Linked DNA regions of Homo sapiens: region 2 is linked to region 1. Evidence: promoter capture Hi-C in human tissues and cell types (Jung and others, 2019). All regions are on one chromosome and are shown on one strand. Each heading gives the region's core, a stretch centred on a gene start or on the middle of the fragment in contact. The rest is flanking DNA. Distances are from core to core; before and after follow the strand shown. Region 1 holds the start of SPAST (spastin). Region 2 has its middle 49 kb from the start of LINC01946.

Region 1 (6,300 bases), core at 49-2,548:
TCAAAGCAACAGGGGGAAAAGTTTTATGCTAAATATAACTTCATTGAAAAAGTATTCAGGAATCGTTGTACTGATAAAATGATTATCTTGATTAAAATGATGCAAATTCAACTGCAGTCATATGCAGCTATTTCTTTCAAAATTGTCACCATTTGTTCTTTTTTTCTGACACTACAATACTCTGCTTTCATTAAAAGCCAGTAAGGCGGCACTGCTTCTTCAATATCAAAACCTTTTGGAAACCTTGGTTCAGAGGAAGCTGCACACTCTTCACAGTGCTAGAAAGGATCAGTGTGGTCACTCTAGGACAAATGTCACTGTCATCAACACGTCTGGGTGTCTCATAGTGACCTGGGTCATGCAGAAGTGTGGGGGAAGGCTGGTGTCTGAAACAAAGTCGACAGCTACAGTGCCCTGAAAGGGGAGAGGTTTTAAGAATACTAGAAGATGAGGCTCCGACCTACGGGAAAGCAGTCTCCCGGGGCATATCAATTCCGGGGGTGCACCGTCCCCTCCCGCAGAAAAGGGACGCAGGTGTTGCCCTCCCCCGGCGACCCCACCGCCTTCTTCCCGGCGCCGCCGCCCCCTCCCCCAGCCCCCTAGTTACCTTTCTCATCCTCATCGATGCGCAGGGCAATGGAGATGTACTCGAAGGCCTGTTTGTGGAAGACTCGGACGCGCTCGGCCTCGCCGCCCGGCACCGGCGCCGGGGCCGAGGCCGAGGCAGGTGCTGGCGCGGCCCCGGAGCTCCTCTTGGCTGCCATGAGGGCGCGGGAGAAGCGCTGGCAGAGCCACACGAAGAGGAGCCCCAGGTGGAAGGCGACCAAACGCAGCAGCGCGAAGCCTACAAACAGCGGGTAGGAGAAATAGTACAGGTTCCGCTTATGCGGCGACTCGGGCGGAGGGGCCGGCCCGGCGGCGGGAGGGGCGGGGGCCAGGCAAGGGGGCGGAGGCCTGGGAGGCACCGGGTTGCTGGCGCCGCCGGAGCCTTTCTTCTTCCCTCGTCCACCCGGAGAATTCATTCACAGCTCTCACTGCCGCCGCCGCCATAACCCGCCTCCCGCAGACCGACGGGAACCAAGCGACGGCGGCAGCCACTGCTACGGCGGGGGCCACAGACCCCCGTGTGCCCGCCGGTCTCAGGAGCTCCGCACTGCCGCACGCTGCCCGCCGGCCCCGCCCCTTTCTCCTTCCTCGGCCAGGAGCACAACCCCTTCTCCTCCTGCAGTCGGTGGCTCGGGCCCCTCCCTTCCTGTCGCTGTCCTCTCCGCCGCCTGGTGGCTCCCAGCGGCGGCCGCGCACGCGCACGTCTTCCCGTGTTTTTCTCCGGCGCGCGCGCGCACGGCGCGTCTTTGTTGACCGGGGCCCCTGTACGCGTGTGCGGCCCCCGCCTCTCGGCTTTCCCACTCAACTACAGTTCCCAATGTGCAGTTCGGCTCACGTCGGCAGCCCTGGAGAGCTCCTGCCAGGAAGCCTTCGTAATCGATCCACGGAAGGGGGAATTGCGGCTTGGGGTCGCTCTGCTGGTTCGCTAGGCTCCTCTCTCAGTGTCGTCGTTTTCTTAGATTTCTTTCATCTTTTTCTGCCAGGCGACCTAAGTCTTCTCCGAAGGATAATTGGCCCATCTCAGAAGCAATGGATATCAATCTGGGAATTAAATTAGCCGGGCGTGGGGGCGCGCGCCTGTAGTCCCAGCTGGTTGGAAGGCTAAGGCCGGAGAATCGCTTGAACTCGGGAGGCAGAGGCTGCAAGTGAGCTGAGATCGCGCCACTGCACTCCAGCCTGGGCGACAGAGCGAGACTCCGTCTCCAGAAAAAATAAAATAAAAATTTAAAATCTGGGAATTATTTGAGAGGAAAGCAATTGTGAAGATAAGAAACTTCAGGTCACTGCAAACAACAGCAACAAAAATGTTAGCTCAGTGTGATGAGATCAACTAACCCAGGGGTTTAACTAAATTAGTGCATATTTAGATGTCTAATATGAAAGATAATTTATTTGAATAAGGGAAATCTTAGGTTTTGCATAGTTACCATCCCATAGTTTACTGAAGAATCTACACTTTTTTTTTAATCTACTCAGCATCCCTTCCTTTGGGAAACTACCTGCTTGTCTCTGCTCCCTGTATTCTAATGAGCTGCAAGCACAGAACCCAGACCGCAAAGGCGGAAGCAAACACTAGGTCAGTCAGATTCTCCTGGGACCTGGAATCTTGGCTGGAGACCCACCGAATAGAAAGTAACTGGAAACGAGTGCTCTTAAGAGCGGGTTTATCAATGCATCACATTGAGCTCCCCCAGAGCTGCTGGGTTCCTGACTGGTCACTTGGTTATGTAATCTATCCAATACACTAATCAGTCTGTTTCTCTGTTTCTCTCTTCCTCTCTCCTTTCCCCCTTCCTTCCTTTCGTCTTTTCCTCTCTCTCCCTCTCTCTCTATCTCCACGTCTTTTTTCTCTTCTCTTTCTCTTTTTACTTGAGTTAGCCATAATTATTTCTTGTTTCCTAAAACTAAGGAAGCCAAACTGATAAAAAGACTCCGTTATTTACAATGTGAGGTTTCCAAATGCCCCATGAGAGCTTCCAGCTTCCAAGAATCTCCACATTCTGCCACAGCTTTATTTTTTTATTTTTTGGACAGGGTTTCACTCCATTGCCCAGGCTGGAGTGCAGTGGCGCAAACAACATGACTCACTGCAACCTCCACCTCCCTGGCTCAGGTGATCCTTCCACCTCAGCCTCCCGAGTAGCTGGGATCACAGGCACACGCCACTGGGCCCGACTAATTTTTGTATTCTTTATAGAGCCAGGGTTTCACCATGTTGCCCAGGCTGGTCTCCAACTCCTGGGCTCAAGCAATCCGCCTGCCTCAGCCTTCCAAAGTGTTGGGATTACAGGCATGAGCCACCCCATCGCGCCCCCAGCTAATTTTTTTACTTTTTTGTTGAGACAGGGTCTTGCTATGTTTCCCAGGTTGGTCTTGAATTCCTGGGCTCAAGCAACCTGCCCGCCTCGGCCTCCCAAAGTGCTGGGATTACAGGCATGAGCCACAGCACCAGCCAATTTTACTTAATTATTCCCCGCCAGTACTGCCCTACAAATGTCACAGGCTATTGCAAAAATGACCTACTCCCTGTTTCCCTCTTATTGCTCCCCCTTCTCTGTGCTTATGCTAGACCCTCATTCTGAAATGCCCTCTTTCGGCCGGGTGTGGTGGCTCACGCCTGTAATCCCAGAACTTTGGGAGCCGAGGCGAGCAGATCACCGGAGGTCAGGAGTTCAAGAGCAGCCTGGCTAACATGGCAAAACTCCCTCTATACTAAAAATACAAAAGTTAGACAGGTGCATTCCTGTGGTGGTGGTGCATTCCTGTAATCTCAACTAGTGCGAGGCTGAGGCAGGAGAATCACTTGAACCTGGGAGGCTGAGGCCGCGGTGAGCCAAGATCATGCCAATGCACTGCAGCCTGGGCGACAGAGCGAGACTCTGTCTCAAAAGCAAACAACAAAAAATTTTTTTTAATGAAATGCCCTCTTTTAAATCTGATTCAGGGCCTGGCACGGTGGCTCACACCTGTAATCCCAACACTTTGGGAGGCCAAGGCAGGCGGATCACCTGAGGTCGGGAGTTCGAGACCAGCCTGACCAACATGGAGAAACCCTTTCTCTATTAAAAATACAAAACTAGCCGGGCATGGTGGCGCATGCCTGTAATCCCAGCTACTCGGGAGGCTGAGGCAGGAGAATCACTTGAACCCAGGAAGTGGAGGTTGCAGTGAGCCAAGATAGTGCCATTGCACTCCAGCCTGGGCAACAAGAGCGAAACTCCATCTCAAAAAAAAAAATTACATTTATACATATATCATATAAACAAGAAGTGTGTTACTTAAATGCACAATTTAAAGAAAAATAATAAGCAGCATTCCATTTAAGAAAAATGAATGTAACCAACTCCTCGAAGCACTCTGTGAGCTCCTCCCTAATCTCAATGTCTTGTCTCTTCCTCTAGAGGAAGCCACTATCCTGAATTTTATATTAATCATTCTAGTGTCTCATTTTTAGTTTGCAGTGTATTTATGTATTTCTAAACAATGTCTTGTATGATTTTGCCTCACTTTGACTTTATGGAAATGTAATCATATTTCAAGTATCCCTTGTTTGCTTTCCCTCCTCAAAATTTTTAAAATTTCATTTATTTTATTTTAAGAAAATAGAGATGGAGTCTCACTGTTGCCCAGGTTGATCTCGAACCCCTGGGCTCAAGTAATCCTCCTGTCTTGGTCTCCCAAAGTGCTGGGATTACAGGCATAAACCGCTATGCCTGGCTACCTACTTAATAATTAAGTGTTGAAATTCCTCCCTGTTGATTTCTATAACTGTGGTACATTTTCACTGCTATATAGTATTCCATTATATGAATTTACCACAACCTATTTTACTGTTCAACTATTGATGGATATTTAGTTTGATGCCAGTTTTTTTTCTTAAATAACTATCTTCCCTGTTATCCCTCCAGTCTTTACCACTAAAGAAAGTAACTTACTTTCTAACTTAGCCAAGATAGGGCCCAATAGTAGAATGGTTAAATGGTCCTGGAGTCAGACTGGTTGCATTTAGATCTGTGTTCCATCACTTTCGGTGATCTTGGATGAGTTACTCAGCTTCCACATCTACAGTATAACACTAGAGTAGTAAGCAGTGCCTGGAATCAAGTTGATACTTGATTATTTTTTTATTTTTTGTTTTTTTTAATTTTTTTAAATTATCTATTTTTTGTTTTAAAAGTTCTTTTGTAGAGACAAGGTCTCTCTCACCGTGTTGCCCAAGCCAGTTTTGAACTCCAGCCCTCAAGCAATCCTCCCACTTCAGCCTTCCAAAGTGCTAGGATTACAGGCATGAGCCACCATGTTCAGTTTATTTCTATTTTTATTTTATTTTTTACTCACCATGATACTAACAAGGAGATTTGTTGGTTTTTTGTTTTTGTTTTTGTTTTTGAGACAAGGTCTCACTCTGTCACCCAAGCTGGAGTACAGTGGCGCCATCAGAGCTCACTGCAGCCTTGACCTCCCTGGCTCAAACCACCCTCTTGCCTCAGCCTCCTGAGTAACTGGGACTACAGGCATGCACCACCATGCTGGGGTAGTTTTTTTTAAAATTTATTTATTTTTTAAGATGGAGTCTCGCTCTGTCGCCAGACTGGAGTGCAGTGGTGCGATCTCGGCTCACTGCAACCTCCGACTCCCTGGTTCAAGCGATTCTCCTGCCTCAGCCTCCCGAGTAGCTGGGATTACAGGGATGTGCCACCATGCCCAGCTAATTTTGTATTTTTAATAGAGATGGGGTTTCTCCATGTTGTCCAGGAGGGTCTTGATCTCCTGACCTCGTGATCCGCCCGCCTCAGCCTACCAAAGTTCTGGGATTACAGGTGTGAGCCACTGCATCTGTCTGAATTTTTTGTTTTTTAGTTGAGATGAGGTCTCACTATGTTGCCCCAGATGGTCTTGAATTCCTGAGCTCAAGTGATCCACTCACCTTGACCTCCCAAAATGCTGGGATTACAGGCATGAGCCACTATGCTTGGCCATGAGGAAGATAGTTTTTGAATAAAGAATGGTTCTCCGACATTTCCTCTGCACTTTCACTATACTCTAGCTAATATAGACTGTTGGTCTGTACCTACTTTGCTCTTTTCCAGGACTACAATTACTCTCCTGTCATTTTTCATTCACTTAGAATGGCCTCGCCTCCTACTTCCACTGTCAAAGTCCTTCAAGACTTACCTCTAATGTTATATTTTTTTTTTTTTTTTTTTTTTTGAGACTGAGTCTCACTCTGTCACCCAGGCTGGAGTGCCATGGCACGATCTCAGCTCAATGCAACCTCTGCTTCCCATGTTCAAGTGGTTCTCCTGCCTCAGCCTCCTGAGTAGCTGCGACTACAGACGCGTGCCACCACGCCCGGCTAATTTCTTGTATTTTTAGTAGAGACGGGTTCATCGTGTTAGCCAGGATGGTCTCGAACTCCTGACCTTGTGATCCACCTTCCTTGGCCTCCCAAAGTGCTGGGATTACAGGTGTGAGCCACCGCGTCCAGCTCTGTTATATTCTTGATAAATTATTCCATTATCACCTCCAGCAGAAATGATCTTGTTTTTCAGTTGTTATGACAATATGGTTGTGTTACTCTGTGGCTCTTATACTATATTGCCCTGCAGGATGATTATTTAAACACTTCATCACCTCTTGATATAGATTGTAAACTTACTGAAGGCAGTGGTCACACTTTATACATTTTGCCTC
Region 2 (6,594 bases), core at 2,769-5,268, 210 kb after region 1:
AAAATGGCTTTAGAAAAATATTTTTTAGCAGTAATTTTATAGTAATTTCAATAATATATGGTAACAGAAAGCTTGTCAGTTAGAATCTTTAGCTTTTCTTGCCAGCTTCTACCCAATTCTTCCCCCTCAACCCCCGACGCTTGTTTTTAGTGGTAACATTGCTACCACCGTCTCTACAAAGTTAGGATAACTAATATTTGAAAGTGGAGTTGTTTTCAACAAACTTTAGTATTTCTGCCCAAGATGAACAAGTATAATGATGGGGATACTTTACTTCTCTCATAACAGAGCTTGCAGTGCTCAATATTAAAGAATAAAATTACAGACCTTTACCAAGTTGTGTACTCATTTGCAAATCAGCTGAGGAGCACTCTCAAGAAAGTAACAGATGGATTGTTTTAAAAAAAGAGAGACACTGAAATTTTTGATCATGGGAATTTTGTCATGTTCAATGAAAAGTAATGTTCTGTCAAATGAAAATAATGAGGTTCATAAATGGGAATATATAAGACAAAAATATGAATAGCCAAAATACGTTTAAAAAATCTAAACTATTGAACATAAATTAAATTGGTTATCCCTGGGAAAAGATACTGTATATTTTAATGATCTCTGTGTATTTGGGAACTATAGCAGTAAATGCAAAGATACATCTTGCCTGTCTCTCCCGGTTTTAAGTTAATTGACACAGATATTTCAATAGTAGTATTACTCGTTAAAATTCTGCAATACTTATTACCTGGTATCATTTAAAAAGATATTTTCTCTAAGATAAAAGATACTAATGAAGATAGAAGACACCAATCTGTTTCCATCCTCCTTTTCTCTCTTGCATTTTCCCTTCTGTGTATTAGAAACAATAACAAAGGCCTGCTTTTATAGTCTTGACAAATCGTTTCTTACCTGAAAGGAACTTGGGTTTTCTCTTTTTAAGCTAGCTCTTAGTCTGTAGCTTCTGATAGCAAGTAATCTCTTCATTCTCTAGTATCCTTTGCCATGACTTAAAAATGGAGACTATAGCTTAATTGATTGAATACTCTGACCTAGCAGTCCCATGTTTGAGTGCAGGGATGGTGTTGGGCATTTTATCCCCTGGTAGTGATATTCTAGAATGCTTTATGTTCCTACCCCCTAAAAAATCCTCCAAATCCTTCATATTCTCAAGTAGCACTTATAACTTTAGCATTATTGCCTAACACAACAGTTCTACCATTAATCATACTACATGTTCATCCTTCTAAATGTCATTATCAATTTAGGTAGCCTGTAAGAGTATTGAATTTAAGGAAAAGGGTGAAGGGAAGATAAAACCATTTATATAAAAGTGCTGGGTTTCATTGCTTGTGGTAAATAATGTTTTAATTTTTTGCCAAGTGAAAACAAATCTTTAAAAGGAAAGGAAAACAATTATTTTATGGAAATATTTTGTAAACATGTATGTAAAGACATTGTTTTCTTTGCCACCAACAAATTGTTAATAAAAAAGTTTTTTTTTAGTTTCTTCTTGAATGAGGTTCCTTTGTGTATAGTAGGGCAAATTATTCAGGCCTTAAAAAAAAAATCTTCAATCTGAGTTTATTTAATCAGATGTCAACAGAAAGGTTGCAGCTTCTTCCATTTTGTTGTTATTTTCAACCAATGTCTTTTCCCTCTTTTTAAGAAAAAAGTCATTGTTTTTTAAATACTATTTTTGGATGAATTATGTCTGTAGAATGGTTGACCAACAGCATTTGCTAAACTATTGAAAAACTAATGATTGGTTGGTCATCTCTATCTATGATGTACTTTCATTCATGAAAACCAATGAGTTCTCATGATAAATAACTCTTGGAAATAGAAACTCTGCTTACTAACATGTACTTGCTGAGGGTAATAATCCGGCATTATACATACAGTATGTGAGGGGAGGGGAATTGCTTATCCTAACAGTGTTTTCCCGCATTCTCACACATTGTACTCATCATTGTAAGTCTTTCTAGAGTATTGTTCTTGATTTTGGACCCCAACATAAAGAGGAGAAAAAGTTCAAGGTAAGTGACAGACATGAACATCAATTTGAGGAAATTGGATTTGGAGGAAAAGTTAAGTAAAAAACGTTGAATCTAAAAGAGTTGACTGTATCTTTATATTTGAGAAGGAACATGCTCTATGTGATGGTGAAGAGCTGTTTTCTGTTTTAGTCAATAGTTTTAGGCTGAGTGCGGTGGCTTACACCTGTAATACCCACAGTTTAGGAGGCTGAGGTGGGAGGATTGATTGAGGCCAGGAGTTCGAGACCAGTCTGGAAAACAAAGACCCCATCTCTACGAAAACATAGATAGATAGATAGATAGATAGATAGATAGATAGATAGATAGATAGATAGATAGATAGAGATAAAGATAGATGATGGAGATTAGATAGTTTTAAACAGACATTAATGAGTCTGGACCTTGGAAAAAACTTATGCAACTTTAGGAACATAACATCACACAGTCATGGGAAATTTTGGTGAAGAAAAGGGGAGATGACCGTTCATCCGGAATTGTTTAGCTAAATTCTTCCCCAGGAAACTCTTCAGAGATTATGTGATCTTTACAAATTTTTTTTAGCTCAAGGTAGGATTGTAGAATATATTATTAAAGGTAACACCACAAGCCCTTTTGTGTGGTATATGTTGTGGGTGTGGGAGGAAAGCGAGAGAGAATATGTCCCAGAATAAAAGTTTTAGAATCATTACCTTAAGTTCAAATGTATAAACAGAGTGGTCAACTTCATGGTTGATGCTTAGGCCATGTAACATACAATACAAATTATACAAATACTTAGAGATTATATATGTGAAAGTCCTAGACAGTTCAGTGAAAACTGATGTGATATAAAACTACAGCTTTTGAAAATGCAAAATTAAAAATTTTTTTTTTTGGGTAACTACTAGAATCCCTTAGGACCACTATGAAAATTTGGTACAACTGTGCTTAAATGTTTTGAGAACCTACTTTGTCAACCTCAGCATTTTCCTCAGGTTTTAGTTTGGAATTGGTTTCATGTTCTTGATTTTATTCTAATTGGTTTATGTCACATACTTCTTACAAATCTTAATACTAGTTACAATCTGATAACCTACTCTGGGAGAGTGTTTTAGTCCTGAAAATAATCATAAAAAGAATAGGTAAGTATCCTCACTTTACACACTTTAGAAAGTTTAAGTAACTGATTTGATGCCACTTCACCGATAAGTGGCTGAACCAGTATATAAATTTAGATCTTTAAGAGCTATATAGAAAACATGGTGCCCTCTGGTAAGATTTTTCTTTTTAAGTGAAGTTCATTTTCTTCATGGAATAAGATAGTGTAGTTCAGCAAATATTGAGTACCTGCCACATGACAAACTGTATGTTCTTTAAGAACCGTATGAAATTGCTGATATTTAACTGTTGTTTACTTATACAAACTGCAACTTAGTGTGATTCAATCTTATACTTTATGTTATTTAATTCTTACAATAATCCCATTTTTAGATAGATGTTTTCATGGCTTAGAAAACATTTCTGACCAAGAATAGTTTCTATACTTGTGGAGACACTCATAGCCAAAAACTTGGATGGTCTAGGTTCCCTCAGCCCCCCGAAATAAACCTTAGTCTGTTTAAGATGTGTAAAGAATATGCTCTAAGATGACCCCTGATGACTCCTGTGCCTCTTGATGTTTATGACGTTTTGTAATGCCTTCCCCTTGAGTAAATTTCTTCTAATCATCATTGTGGGTATGTCACTTCTTGCTAGCAGACTCTCTCCCTTGCTGGCTTTGATGAAGCAAATTACCATGTTGGGAAAGTCCACACAGCAAGGAACTGAGGGGAGCTTCTGCTCAGCAGCCAGCTAGGCTGATCCATTAAAAAAAGGGAAAGACATTAGGCTTCATTTTTACAACTAATGCTCAATGTCAAGAGACAATGACAAGAATGAGAAGACAAGTCACAAACTGGGAGAAACATTTCAGCGGGGAGTAAGCTTATTCAAGGGCATTTACCTATTAGGGAGGCAGAGTTGGGATTTGAGTCCAGCCTAACTTGCTCCAAAACCAACGTTCATTTCAGTCATTTCAGTTGTTCCCTGAACTTTTTGGAATTTGTGAATCTGGTAAATTTCCTGCTCAATATTTCCTCATTTTGCTGTCTAGGAAGATACCACTTTTTCTCTCCCATTTTCCATATGCCTCGCCTTTCCATATGTGTCAGAGAGCAGTAAATTATTCCTGAAACATCATTTGTCAACCCTTTCTGTTGCTTTCTCTACCCTCCTTTAATTGATATTCCTCTGAATTTCTGTAGCCTGTTTCCCATGCAGTTTTAGTACTCTGTTATTTTCTCTATTAGATTATAAATTTCCTCAACACAGAAGCTTAATGCTTTTATACTTCCTATAGTTGCTGGTCTTGCATTCAACATTTAGTAGAATCAATAATAACTGTGTTTTTTCCCTGAACATGGACTGAGCATAAAACAAGACTTACTCTTGATGCTTTTAGCCGGGTTTAGTGTGGTCTGGTACTGGATACTTTGAAATGGTGACCCCTGCAAATGCCTCCATACTCCTTTCCTTCCTGAGAACGTAAACATTTGGCCATTTAATTCAAGGCATTCACTTTAGCAAGTGTTTTGAGACATTATCTTTGGCTAGAGTCACACAAAAAGTCAAATAAAGAGAAAAAAGAAATTTAAAAAGTTTTGAGGCATTAGCTGGGCACATGGCTCATGCCTGTAATTCCAGCACTTTGGGAGGTGGAGGCAGGCGGATCACTTGAGGCCAGACCAGCCTGGCCAACATGGCGAAAGCCTGTCTGTACTACAAATACAAAAATGAGCTGGGCATGGTGCCGTGCGCCTGTAACCCCAGCTACTCTGGAGGCTGAAGAGGAGAATTACTTGAACCTGGGAAGCTGAGGTTGCAGTGAGCCGAGGTCACACCACTCCATCTTGGGCGACAGAGTGAGATTCCGTCTCGGGGCCGGCGGAGGGAGGAAGGTTTTGAGACTAAGAATAAACTGTTTCTTTCCCCACCAACCAGGCAAATGCTAGCTGATACTGTAAGCTTAGAAGTTTCTTTTATCCACACCTTGGCCATATTCTAACCCATAAATACATTAAAATAAAAATAAAAAACTTCCAGGAAGAAATCAAATATAACATTTTTATTTTAAATGGATAGAAAAAAAGTCACTTATAGTCTCATTCTCCAAAGATTATCACTGCAAATTTTTATTCTTTAATCTTTCTGGTACAGTAGGTCTAATACTTTTTGAGCATACGATGTGTGTGTTTCTATCTTTTTAAAGTAGAATTCCACCATGTATACAGTTTTGTTATTGCAGTTTCTAAACTCAGTTTTTATCTGGGTTTTCTTTCCTGATGTCAGCTTATTTTAGAAAAAATAGCCAATTCAAAGTTTTCTCAGTCAACTCAAGAAAGTGTTCTCAGTCAACTCAGAGACTGTCCCATTCATTCTTTCTTTCTACATGATAACTGTATACAAAAGTATTGACATAACAGCCAAGTGTTAGAAGTATGTCTGGTCCTTGTTTGCCCCTGCTGGATCTTGGATATGACATTTTCTCTATAAATACCTGCTCATATGTTTGCCTTTCCATCTGCTGAATTTGTATTGCTTTTTGTATCCACTGATGTGTTCCATCTTACCCCTAATTGGAACTTGGAGTAACTGCCAATTCTAAATCAACTTATTTGCTGCCTAACTATGCTGAGCTGAGTGAGCTTTTGTCTCTGGACCCTTTAGTCCATCTCTCTGGCACCATGCTGGGCATGGGGCTTCTTGCCATAATTTACTGCTCTCTGGGAAAAGAAACCCTGCAGGCGCACGCCACCATGCCCAGCTAATTTTTGTGTTTTTAATAGAGACAGGGTTTCACCATGTTGGCCAGGATGGTCTTGATCTCTTGATCTCATGATCCGCCTACCTCAGCCTCCGAAAGTGTTGGGATTACAGGCGTGAGCCACTGCGCCTGGCCTGCAATGTTCTTAATGCCATATGTGAAGTAGTGAAGTAGCATAATCTTATTTGAAGATTTACTGTATATTATTATTATCATTGTGTTTTTTTTTTTTGAGACAGAGTTTCACTCTTGTTGCCCAGGCTGGAGTGCAATGGCACGATCTCGGTTCACTGCAACCTCTGCCTCCCAGGTTCAAGCGATTCTCCTGCCTCAGCCTCCCAAGTAGCTGGGATTACAGGCGTGTGCCACCACGCCAGGCTAATTTTTTTGTATTTTTAGTAGAGATGGGGTTTCACCATGTTGGTCAGGCTGACCTCGTGATCTGCCCCCCTCGGCCTCTCAAAGTGCTGGGATTACAGGCGTGAGCCACCACGCCCGGCCAGGAATAATTTTAAAAAGACAGAACTTAATGACTCCAAAAATAGTAAGAAAAGGAAAGAACAAAGTTCATGAGATCAACTATGAAGCAGGTAAGATTTTAATCCAACCTTATTTATATTTCTGAAAATGGTCTAAACATCACAAAAGGTAGATATTATCAGATTGGATAAAAAAGGAATACCTAATTATATGCCAACATTAATCCAAAGAATGCTGGAGGGG

The links. The method cuts DNA at HindIII sites, captures the fragments that hold promoters and counts their contacts. A contact is called where the count stands out against the background at its distance.
Region 2: a fragment that was not itself captured here is called in contact with the fragment with the promoter of SPAST in region 1 in 1 of the 25 tissues and cell types used here (adrenal gland).

What each region holds. Positions count from the first base shown.
Region 1 is chr2:32,058,554-32,064,853 of GRCh38, reverse strand. It overlaps SPAST (spastin), which reads right to left and starts at 1,298. Exons shown (of 17, transcript NM_014946.4): 1 at 608-1,298. The coding sequence starts at 1,022. RefSeq lists silencers at 435-564, 595-1,014, 1,075-1,214 and enhancers at 586-1,386, 1,435-1,504. The HindIII fragment of the contact is 21,143 bases long and covers 1-6,300 here.
Region 2 is chr2:31,850,121-31,856,714 of GRCh38, reverse strand. No RefSeq gene overlaps it. Among named protein-coding and RNA genes, the nearest start is that of LINC01946, 49 kb to the right of the region's middle. The HindIII fragment of the contact is 3,972 bases long and covers 2,033-6,004 here.